Regions from separate parts of the Homo sapiens genome. Here all the other regions are linked to region 3. The links are contacts of gene promoters, found by promoter capture Hi-C in blood cells and fetal thymus (Javierre and others, 2016). All regions are on one chromosome and are shown on one strand. The core of a region is centred on a gene start or on the middle of the fragment in contact, and the rest is flanking DNA. Distances in the headings are between cores, read along the strand shown. Region 1 holds the start of AVPR2 (arginine vasopressin receptor 2). Region 2 overlaps ARHGAP4 (Rho GTPase activating protein 4). Region 3 holds the start of SLC10A3 (solute carrier family 10 member 3).

What was found. Contacts are between HindIII fragments. The CHiCAGO score rates a contact against its expected background, and 5 or more counts as called.
Region 1: a contact is called between the fragment with the promoter of AVPR2 here and the fragment with the promoter of SLC10A3 in region 3, in 2 of 17 cell types (total CD8 T cells and monocytes). The highest score is 5.6, in total CD8 T cells.
Region 2: a contact is called between a fragment that was not itself captured here and the fragment with the promoter of SLC10A3 in region 3, in 2 of 17 cell types (monocytes and non-activated CD4 T cells). The highest score is 5.2, in monocytes.

What each region holds. Positions count from the first base shown.
Region 1 is chrX:153,902,046-153,905,922 of GRCh38, forward strand. AVPR2 (arginine vasopressin receptor 2) reads left to right here and starts at 2,628. Exons shown (of 4, transcript NM_000054.7): 1 at 2,628-2,726; 2 at 2,929-3,125; 3 at 3,487-3,877. The coding sequence starts at 3,101. The HindIII fragment of the contact is 5,945 bases long and covers 1-3,877 here.
Region 2 is chrX:153,922,025-153,925,605 of GRCh38, forward strand. All of the region lies in intron 1 of ARHGAP4 (Rho GTPase activating protein 4), which reads right to left. Among named protein-coding and RNA genes, the nearest start is that of ARHGAP4, 2.4 kb to the right of the region's middle. RefSeq lists enhancers at 1,400-1,900, 2,407-2,536. The HindIII fragment of the contact is 3,334 bases long and covers 1-2,918 here.
Region 3 is chrX:154,489,123-154,492,631 of GRCh38, forward strand. SLC10A3 (solute carrier family 10 member 3) reads right to left here and starts at 1,507. Exons shown (of 2, transcript NM_019848.5): 1 at 1,185-1,507. RefSeq lists a silencer at 1,230-1,739. The HindIII fragment of the contact is 4,164 bases long and covers 1-2,531 here.

The DNA.
Region 1 (3,877 bases), core at 1,378-3,877, 590 kb before region 3:
AGTGTTAAGTGGGTCGCACCATTTCTCTCCTGGGTGACAGGCACAGCTTCCACCAGCCTCCCTGCCTCCACTCTTCTCTGCAGAAGCCCATGTGCTCCTGGGGCAGAGCCCAGGTCCTTCCATCTCTGCAGCCACAGTGCTAGGCCAGCGGCACTTGCAGTTTGGTGAATGGAAGGTTCTGATCATGGGGAACCGGTAGATAGAGAGGGACAAACAGTGTCCCCCCAATCTGCCTCCTGTCCTCTTCTGCCCAGACACTAGGCTGGAAGATCAGGAGCCACACCTTGGCACTCACAGAGCCCTTTCTGCAAGTCTTAGAGGGACCAGTGGGAGGTGTGCACACAGGGGCTGCGCTGGCAGGAGTGGGGGCCTGGCACACCCCCAGGTAGATGCCCTGCCCGTTAACGCCCAAGGGCAGGGGCTTGAGTGACTCATGTGGGCCTAGCGTGAATCAGCACAGTCTGCCCTTCTTCCCATGGGAGCTGCTGCCCAGCCCCATCTTTCTTGGCCCCCGAGGGGTGGCTGCCCAGGGCCTCTCTCCTGGCACAGTTCCATGTAGTGCCTGCCCATGTGGCTCCCAGTTCCTCCCCGGGGTCCTGGCTGAGCAGAATGGCACTGGATCCTGATCTGGCTTCTTGCATCCCAGAGGAGACCGCCATGCGGGCCCTTCCTCCAGATTCTTCCCTAGTTTAACAACAGGAAGCGAGGAGTCCAGGGGGGCAGAGATTGCCACGGGCCTGGCCACATTGCTAGGGGAGGTCCCAACCTGCTGCTGAGATCCGGCACTGCACAGCCTCGTTCAGGCAGAGAAACTGATAAGGAGATGGTTGTCTGCTCACCCCAAAAGGTTAGCATGGATTCCTCGCCCTAGCCGGCTTTAGACGGAGGGAACAAAGGCTTTCCCAAGGCCCTGCCAGTCCCCACCCCTGCCCATCTTACCACCGTAGTCTCCCTCAATCATCAAGTCCCATTGCACAGAAGGGGAAGCTGAGGTGCCAAGAGCTGGCGTGGCCTGTTCAAGGTCACACTACTGGGCAGGGGCCAAGCAGGGGCTGGAGCCTTGCTTTCCTATTCCCCAGCCAGGGTCCCCAAATTCTCTGCCAGTTGAGGGAAGCCATCTCCTATTCCACTGATCTGGGTGGCATTAGGAAGGCCTTTTCTATGCTCCTAGATTAGTGACAGCATGCGGTTATTGGGGACAGCATGAGGATGTGCATGCGCTGAGGAGATGCAGCTGAAGCGTCAGGCCTGGGGTGCCAGCACTCTGCAGCCTGCCCCCAAGGGGCTCTGCAAAAACATGGCAAAGATGCGGGGTGTGATGTGCACCTGTGTGTGCTGCGGGTGTGTGCGTGTGTGGTGTTGGCTGTGCGTATGTGGTGTGTATGGCTGTGTGGTGGGTACATGTGTGGGTGTGTGGCGTATGGGAGTGTGTGATGTGTGCATGTGTGTGGTGTGTAATATATGTGTGCATGGTGTGGTGTGTGTGTGGTGTGGCGTATGGGTGTGTGGTGGGTGCATGTGTGTGTGGCGTGTGGCTGTGTGCATGTATGTATGTGGTGTGGTGTGTGCGCTGTCTCTGGAAAATGCCCACCCTGTGTTCCCACCACCCTAACAGGGCCGGGAGGGGCCAGGGTGCTGCCAGGCTCTCTGGGCAGGAAGAGGAGGCCTTGGCCGCGGGCCGGACTTGGGCCTGGTCCGTGAGGCTGTTTTGGTCTCTGGCTTCACAGGCAACAGAGAAGACAGACAAACAGGAAGAAAGCAGCTGCCTTGGGCTGGGCTGGGCTGGGCTGGCCTCGGCTGAGCCAAGCCAGGCCTGGGTGCGGGGGGAGTGGAAAGAGAACTACTGGGATGGGGGCTGGAGGGGGTGTGGGGACAGGGGAAGGAGAGAGGTGTTGGGGGAGGGAGGAGGAGGGCTCAGGTACAGGGAAGGTGCGTCCATACTCATGGTATGTTCAAGAACATGAGCGAGCGTCTCTGTGTTGTGTGTTTGTGGCTGTGTGGCTGTATCATGTGAGGTTGTGTGTGGTGGGAGGGAGCCCGTGAGCACACGGAGGTCCCCAGCCCCTCTTCCTAGGACAGGTAGTTGCAGGTGGGGCAGGAGGAAGAGGGTGGGGGTGTCCCTGGATCTCACAGGGGTTCGTGAAGCCTGGCTTGGCCCCTGCCCCACTCCTCCCTTTCCTGTCCCTCGTCTCCGGCCAACTGGGCCCTAACTGGGGAGGAGGAGGGGCCTGCGTGGGCCTGGGAGGGGCCCAGCGAAAGTGTTTTCACCCCTTCCTTGCCTGGGCCCAGCGAGGAGCAGGAGGACCCCAACTTGGGAAGGGGGCGTGAAGCTCCCATGAAAAAGCAGCGCAGTCCTGGGCCAGACCCACCGCTCTCTGGCCTCAGTTTCCCCACTTATAAAATGGGAATGCTGAACTAAGTGACCTCCCAGAGCACTGCCAACCCAGACAATCCAACCAGGGGGGCGTGGTAGGGTGAGGGTGGGCGTGGAGGCTATGGCAGTGGGAGGAGGGAGTCCTGGGCCGGGACCAGGGAGGCCCTGGGGAAAGGAAGGGAAACAGGAGGCCAGGGGAGGCCTGGGGGAAAGGGGGAGGGGGAGGAAGTCCCCTCCTGGCCAGGTCACTCCCAGAGGCTGGGCTGGGCCAGGGCAGGGCAGCCGATGGAGAGCAGATCTGAGCACCCAGCCACCTTCACGCCACCGCCCAGCTGCCCAGGAGCCCAGCCAGGTAAGGGGCTGCGCCTGCCTGCCCCCCTGCCCAGTCCCCAGCCCTCGGATGGTGGCCTCTCTCGGCCTCGGTTGGGGCAGGGGAGTTCTGCGTGTCTGTCTGGGGTGCCCACTCCCAAACCCGGGACTCATGGGCTGCCTGGGGGATCCTGGGTTCTGTGCATCCGTCTGTCTGACCATCCCTCTCAATCTTCCCTGCCCAGGACTGGCCATACTGCCACCGACACGTGCACACACGCCAACAGGCATCTGCCATGCTGGCATCTCTATAAGGGCTCCAGTCCAGAGACCCTGGGCCATTGAACTTGCTCCTCAGGCAGAGGCTGAGTCCGCACATCACCTCCAGGCCCTCAGAACACCTGCCCCAGCCCCACCATGCTCATGGCGTCCACCACTTCCGGTAAGGCTTGCCCCTCCATGAGTCCGGTGGGCAGAGTGGGTTTGACGATTCAGGGAAGCCCCTCTTTCTAAAGACCTCCTTCACCCTCACCTCTGGGTGTGTCTCTCCAGGCTGCCAATGAGTGGGGAGGGGAGCACAGCCCCACTTCCCCGCCAGGGCTGGGGCTGGGGCTGGGGCTGGGGCTGCCCTTCCTTCTGGACTGCATGAGCCTGGGGTGTGTATCCCTCATAACATGGCTTTCCTGGAGTCCCCTCTGCTAGGAGCCAGGAAGTGGGTGTCCGGATGGGGGCACGGGAGGCAGGCCTGAGTCCCCCTGCACAGCACCCTCTCTAACCAGGCCCTCTTCCCGACTCCTTCCCAGCTGTGCCTGGGCATCCCTCTCTGCCCAGCCTGCCCAGCAACAGCAGCCAGGAGAGGCCACTGGACACCCGGGACCCGCTGCTAGCCCGGGCGGAGCTGGCGCTGCTCTCCATAGTCTTTGTGGCTGTGGCCCTGAGCAATGGCCTGGTGCTGGCGGCCCTAGCTCGGCGGGGCCGGCGGGGCCACTGGGCACCCATACACGTCTTCATTGGCCACTTGTGCCTGGCCGACCTGGCCGTGGCTCTGTTCCAAGTGCTGCCCCAGCTGGCCTGGAAGGCCACCGACCGCTTCCGTGGGCCAGATGCCCTGTGTCGGGCCGTGAAGTATCTGCAGATGGTGGGCATGTATGCCTCCTCCTACATGATCCTGGCCATGACGCTGGACCGCCACCG
Region 2 (3,581 bases), core at 2-2,501, 570 kb before region 3:
TGCGCTGAGGCCAACAGATGGCCAGAGCCACCCGGTTGAGGGGGAAGGGGAAGGGTGTCCCAGAGAGAGGGGAGAGCCGCCCCAGCGCCAGCCAGGCACCTTTCAGTTTGGCTTCCTGTCTCTCCCTCGTTCCTGGAAAGCCTCTGAATGGTTTCCCCTGCGACTTCCTTTCCCGCCGGTACCCAGGCTCCGGGAGGTGGCAGCCTCCCTTGCAAACACACGGATACACAACACACAGATCACAGTGCTGCTCAGGGCAAGCCTGCAGCGATCTCGCAGTCTCAGTGGCTGGGGAAGCCTGCCCTCAGGCCCCAGGGGAAAGGACAGTCCACAGTGAGGGCTGGGAGCCAGGGAGAGCTGATCCGGCCTTGTAAGTGAAAGAATGGGGCAGGGAGCTAGCCCCCGTCTTCTGACCCCACTTCCCACTCCCAATCACCCCCCGCCCCACCTGTGCATTCCCCCACCCTGCAGAGAGAGTCACACCCAGGGCCCCATACTGCCGGCCTTTTGACACCCTATCACTGGCTTGATTTGGCAACGCTGCTTCCCCCACACAGGCCTGAAGCAAAGAAGTGCCTGTCCAGCAAGTTTAAGCAACCTGCGGAAGACACTTTTGCCATCTCCTGAGTGCCCGTCCCGAGTAAATAAGATGCTAGCTCAGCTTCTGGCCAGCAGGCTGCCCACCTACTCATCTCCATCCACATCCCCAGGGAGGGACATGAATTGATGTCTTCATTCAGCAGAATGTTGATTATGCACCCATTCTGTGGCAGGCACGTTTTAAATACAAAGGCAAAGAGGTTTGACCAAGTGTCTGCCCTCTTGGAGCTGGGATTGGAATGGGGCACGAACACATATCAGAATGCCCAGGAGTGATGGGTGCGGAGAAGATGAACCCACAAAGCAAGATCAGAGCCAGGGGTGGGTGGGGACAGGGAGGACCTCTTTTTAAAGGAGGGTGGTCAAGAACAAGCCGCATCGTTGGAGCAGAAGGCTGGAGCTGGCTGTACGTGGGCAGTAGGGGGAGTCCGAGAGACCGGTAGGGACAGATGGCACAGAGCCCGGGGTCTGGGCAGAGCTCCCAGCTGGACTCCGAGTGAGAGAGGAGCCACAGTAGTGGGGTGATGTGGTCCAGCTTCGTTTTCAGGGCCCCCTCACACTGCCAGGTGGAGCCCAGGTGGCAGCTACTGTGCTAGTCCAGGCAAAAGACGGCAGGATTCAGACCAGCAGCAGCGAGGGAGGACTCCGCTGAGAAGAGCTCAATCCCATTGGATTTCTGTCCCGCCAGTGACTTCCCAGGGGCTGTTGCATGGGGACCCTGTGGGTTCCGCCTGCCCAGCATCCCTACCTCCTCCCCTGATCTCCTATTGGAGAATGTCCCCTTCCTAGTCTCAGCCCCCTTGACTCCAGGTGCCCCAGCCCTGGCTGCATGCGTCACCCATCCCTCTGTCCCTCCACTCCCTGCCCCCACCAGACTAGCCAGGTGAGGGACCCAGGAGCCTGACCCTTCCAATTGAATTACTGAACAGGAGAGCTCTTCCCACCGGCAGATCAAGCTGGGTAAGTGGAAGCCTGGGGCACGGGACCTCCCGACAGAGCAGGGCAGAGCCCACGATGCCAAGTGAGACAGATGGAGAGTGTCTTCATCCTATCCGAGGCTGGCCTCCTGTGGTTAACTCGTCAGCTCCAAGGCCAGGTGGGGTGGGCGCTAATGCCATTTGAAATCAGGAGAGTCCTCACTGAATCAGTTTAACGTTTTGTTTTGATTTTTTGTTTTGAGACGGAGGATGTTGCCCAGGCTGGAGTACAGTGGTGCGATCTCGGCTCACTGCAACCTCCGCCTCCCGGGTTCAAGCGATTCTCCCGCCTCAGCCTCCCGAGTAGCTGGGACTACAGGGGCGCACCACCACACCCAGCTAATTTTTGTATTTTTAGTAGAGACAGGGTTTCATCATGTTGGCCAGACTGGGTCTTGAACTCCTGACCTCAGGTGATCCGCCCGCCTCGGCCTCCCAAAGTGCTGGGATTACAGACGTGAGCCACCACGCCTGGCCCAGTTTAACATTTTTTGATAAAAGTAAATTTCATTTCATTCCAAGAAAGGTGTTAGACAACTGCTCGCCTCACTGGCCCTCTGGAGCCTGCCCTGCCCTGCTTCCCCCAGAGGAATACAATCCCTGGGGACTTATGACAACTGAACAGTGCAGAAGGAACCAGCAGAGGGAACCGCTGCCTTTCTTCATCACTGCCGGCAGCAAAAGCTGACTGGAAGCCATGTCCTAGTCCAGATCCGGGCATGCACACCGGCTGGTGTTGAGCAGGCAACTTGTGAATTGCAAGTCGATTGCATTGGTGGCTTTCCTGGCAGAGCTTTCGGATCTCAGTTCAGACAAACTCGTCAGCACACCCTGTCCTGACCTCCCCCTAAACTAGGGCTGGCCCTCTTCCGACCCCTTCTTGGCACCGTGCACTTTCCTTCCCTTTGTAGTGCTTATTATCATAATGCAAAGTCTATGTCTCCCCCACTAGACCCGTGAGCCATGTGAGGGCGGGGTGGCCACTGACGCCATTTGAAATCAGGGGAGTCCTCATTGAATCATTGCTTTTACTCTGGGTAAAAAGCCAGGGCTGGAGGGGCTGGAGTCGGGGTTCTCTCTGGTACAGCAGTATACTCCCAGGGCCTGGGACAGCACAGATGTATAGGAAACATCTGGCAAAAGGAGAGCTGGAATCCATGTCTGCCTGAATTACAGAGCTGGGCCCCGGGCCCCACCAGCACTTCCTGTGAGCAAGGCATTTGGTCTCACTTCTGCTGACAAGCAAAACAGAAGAAAAGATGGTCTCCAAAACCACCGCTATGCTGACCTTTGAGAATTTAGGGTGTCAAGACAGTGACCCCACTTTGTAGAATGGTAGGAAGCTTTTCCAGGGTGTGGGATGCAGACCCAGAGCAAGTGAGGAACCCTTAGACAGTCGTGCTCGAAACCCCAACTTTTCAGTGTGAAATCACTGACCCATATTTGCTGACTGAAGTTTTCCAAGTCTTTCAGCTTCATGGCATTTTGGGGAAGCAGGATGGAGATCATTACCTCCATCTGAGCAAGATGATGGCGAGGCTTGGAAAGCTGGCTCACCCTGTGTAGTCACCTCAAGCTGGCTCTGGACACAGGCTGCCTTTTCCAAAGGAGGACTGGAGCATACTTTGGTATAAATTGCTTGCACTGAATAATGATGTTAGAACCTACATCTCTGGGTTCAAAGGCACTTCAAGGGTCATTGCATTCTACGTCCTAGAAGTTGCAGTGCTGTATGACCACGGGCAAGTCACTGCACCTCTCTGAGCTTGTTTCCGTAATTGGTAAAATGGAGTGATTGAGAGTGATATGGACGAGCTGCTGGCACTGAGCTGCTGCCTCTTTCCTTTGCAAGAGTTACCATGCCCTGAATAAGATGGGCACAAGCTATTGGCTAAGAATTTGCAAAGCTGATTTGCATGTGATTTGCACATGGGTGTTTATCAGAACCCAGAGGTTCAATTTCAGAAGGCTGAGAAGCCAGCCCTGTTAAATCTCTCAACCAAG
Region 3 (3,509 bases), core at 257-2,756:
CACTTACCCTGGAGGCCTTGGTCCAGCCATGTGTCTTACCTCTGAAGAGGGAGGCAGTCAAGAACCCAGGAGCATGGGGATCTGGAAGCCCACTGCTAAGAGTAAAACTCAGCAGGGACCCTTGCCCCACACTCAGGAATGGAGAGGCAATGCCTAGTGATGGCCCTTGAGTGCCATTCAGCTGTGGCTCCCTGGCCCACTCTACCTGCCCCTACAGTGACTCGATGAAGGTCCTGCTGGGAAGCAGGTCCTCCCTCCCCAGGGAAGTTGCCAGAAGGGGCGGCAGGAGTGGATCAGACAGAGCCACATGTCTACTGGGGGGGTTTCTCCTCCTTTTGTCAGAGCTCCCACTGGGCTGAGACTTTGACCTCCCAGAGCCACTGCGTTACATCTGAGAGGCTGTGCTCAGAGTGCAGGGCTCCTTCCCATGCCCACATGCGCCCCTACCAGAGCCTCAAACTCAGTGGAATTATGAGTGTTTCTAGCGGCCAGCAACACCCCCTTCCACTTCTCAATCTGGGCAGCGACCACCGTAGTGTCACATCACCTGCTAGAACTGGGGCAACCAGGATGGAGACACAACAGCTTTACATCACCCCTGTCAGTTGCCTCATGCACTGTTGTGTCCCAGTCCTAGAAGAGGACTGCCTCTATAGATCCTATCCGTCTTTGGCATTGGCCTCCCGTCATCTGAGACTGGGGTGAGGCAGAAGTAGGGAGCAGAGGTTAGGTTAAGCCAAAGGCTCATCCCGGCGAGCCTCCCCTATCCCTAGCTTAGGATGACATGGCCTCTGCTGGCTTGAAGTTCGGGTCACTTACCCTGGAGGCCTTGGTCCAGCCATGTGTCTTACCTCTGAAGAGGGAGGCAGGAAAACCAGTGGGGTGGGAGAGGCAAAGTACAGGAGCTAAGATGAAGGCACCAGGACTGAAGCCACCGGGGTGATACAAACCAGCTCAGAAGGGAAAGGCTAGGGGCCATCCACCCCATGCCCCATCCCTCCAGTAGGGCTGGCGGCTCTGAGTCACTCCAAGAGGGGTTTGGCCCAGATCCCACACCATTTCTGCTTGAGGGGCCGACAGAGTTTGAGCAGATGCACCCACAAGGCAGGGGAGGGAGTCCCGGCCCTTCCAAAACGGCCAAGTGTTCGGGGTAACTGGCAGTGCTAACAGGGGCTCCTCCCTACCTGGGAGTCCGGAAGTTGTCGGACGGGTGGCTAGCAGAGCTCGGGCGCGAACCTGGGAGGGAGGAAAGGAAGGGCACGCCGCCGTCCCACAGCCGGCGACCCGCTCGGGCCGTCTCGGAGTCTGGGGGGGCCCCTTACGCCATTCCTGGGCCCCGCGGCCCCGCCAGGCCTCGCAAACGCGCGGCGGCGGCGGCGGCCCTTCCCTGCCAGGCCCGGCCGGGCGCCCGAGTGGGCGATCGCGGAGCAGGGTCGGGGCCAGAGGCCGCCTCCCTTCCGGAGGCTCTCACCTGCCACAGCCACCGCGCAGCTTAGCTGCAGCGTCTGCCTGGCCGGCAGTCGCCCGCGAGCTCGGCCTGTCAGGGCCCCGCCCCACCGAAGCCCCTCCCTTCCCCGCCCCGCGCGTCAGGGCCCCGCCCCCCCCTCAGCGTCCAGCTCAACTCCGGCTGCTCGCTGGGCTCCGACCGGTTGTGACGTCTCTGGGAGTGACGCGCCGGCGCGGGCGCGGTGCGGGTGAGCTGGTCGGCGCTTGGCGCTGCCTGGACCAATCGCTTGGCAGCGCATCTGAAGCTGTTGTGATCGCTGGGGCGACCCGCTCTGGGAGGGAGCCCCAGGCATTCCCGATTACGCTGCGACCTCTAAAGGCAATGGGACAGAGGGTTAGACGTTAGCAGGGCTGGGTGCCCGGGGTTAGGGTTTTGGCCACGTTGCCGCTCAAGGTGCCCAGCCCTGGGGCCCCAGGGTTGAGTTTGACCGACCTGGACGCCAGGCTCTGTGCGGAGTTCCTCCTTTCGTTCAAGTATTGACCGAGCGCCTATTTCTATTTTATGTATTTATTTTCTGAGACTGAGTCTTGCTCTGTCACCCAGCCCGGAGTGCAGTGGCGCGATCTCGGCTCACTGCAACCTCCGCCTCCCTGCAACCTCCGCCTCCCGGGTTCAATCCATTCTCCTCTCTAAGCCTCCCGCGTAGCTAAGATTACAGGCGTCCGCCCCCGCGCCCGGCTAATTTTTGTATTTTTAGTAGAGACGGGGTTTCACCATGTTGGCCAGGTAGGTCTCGAACTCCTGACCTCGTGAGCCACCCGCCTCGGCCTCGCAAAGTTCTGGGATTACAGGCGTGAGCCACTGCGCCCGGCGTAGGCCAGTTTCTATACTGTGGAACATTAAGTGGACTTGTCTGCTTTTCCAAACTTTGGCGCCACTAGCAAGGTGCAGAGGCTTTGTGGTAAAGGAAGAGAAAGAAGGCAGAAAGTTGGGGAAAAATATGATGGGAATGTGTAGAAAGAAGGTCGGAAGGCAGTACAGAAGACAGTACAGAGTTGGGGGGGGGGGGATCATATGTTCCCAAAGCTTATTGGTGCAACTGGAATCAATCTGCACACTTCAACCTCTTGTCAAGACTGTGATGGAGTCGGAGGTATTTGCCCCGGGTAGGTGCACAAGACGCATGGTTGCAGATGTGGAAACAGAACAGAACAAAACCACCCACGTCTCTAATGTTTCAAATGAATGATATACATTTGTTTTTATTACTTATTTATTTATTTTTGAGACAGGGTCTCGCTCTGTCGCCTAGGCTGGAGTGCAGTGGCACAAGCTCGGCTGACTGCAACCTCCGCCTCCCGGATTCAAGCGATTCTCCTGCCTCAGCCTCCTGAGTAGCTGGGATTACAGGCGTGCGCCACTACCACCCGGCTAATTTTTATATTTTTTAGTAGAGACAGGGTTTGCCATGTTGGCCAGGCTGGTCTCAAATTCGTGACCTCAAACGATCCACCCGCCTCAGCCTCCCTAAGTGCTGGGATTACAGGTGTGAGCCACCGTGCCCAGCCAAATAATATACTTTTAATAAATTTATTGACATTTAAATTTATTTTAAAACTTTATTTATTTATTTAGAGACAGGGTCTCGCTCTGTTACCCAGGCTGGAATGCAGTAGTGCCATCATAATCACTGCAGCCTCGAACCCCTGGGCTCAAGCGATCTTCCCACCTCAGTATCCCAAGTAGCTGGGACTACAGGAGCATGCCACCATGCCCAGCTTAAAAAGTTTTTTTGGCCGGGTGCGGTGGCTAATGCCTGTAATCCTAGCACTTTGGGAGGCCGAGGCGGGCGGATCACGAGGTCAGGAGATTGAGACCATCCTGGCTAACACGGTGAGACCCCGTCTCTACTAAAAATACAAACAAATTAGCCGGGCGTGGTGGTGGGCGCCTGTAGTCCCAGCTATTTGGGAGGCTGAGGCAGGACAATCTCTTGAACCCCGGGTGGGGGGAGGTTGCAGTGAGCCGAGATCGCGCCACTCTCCTCCAGCCTGGGCAACAG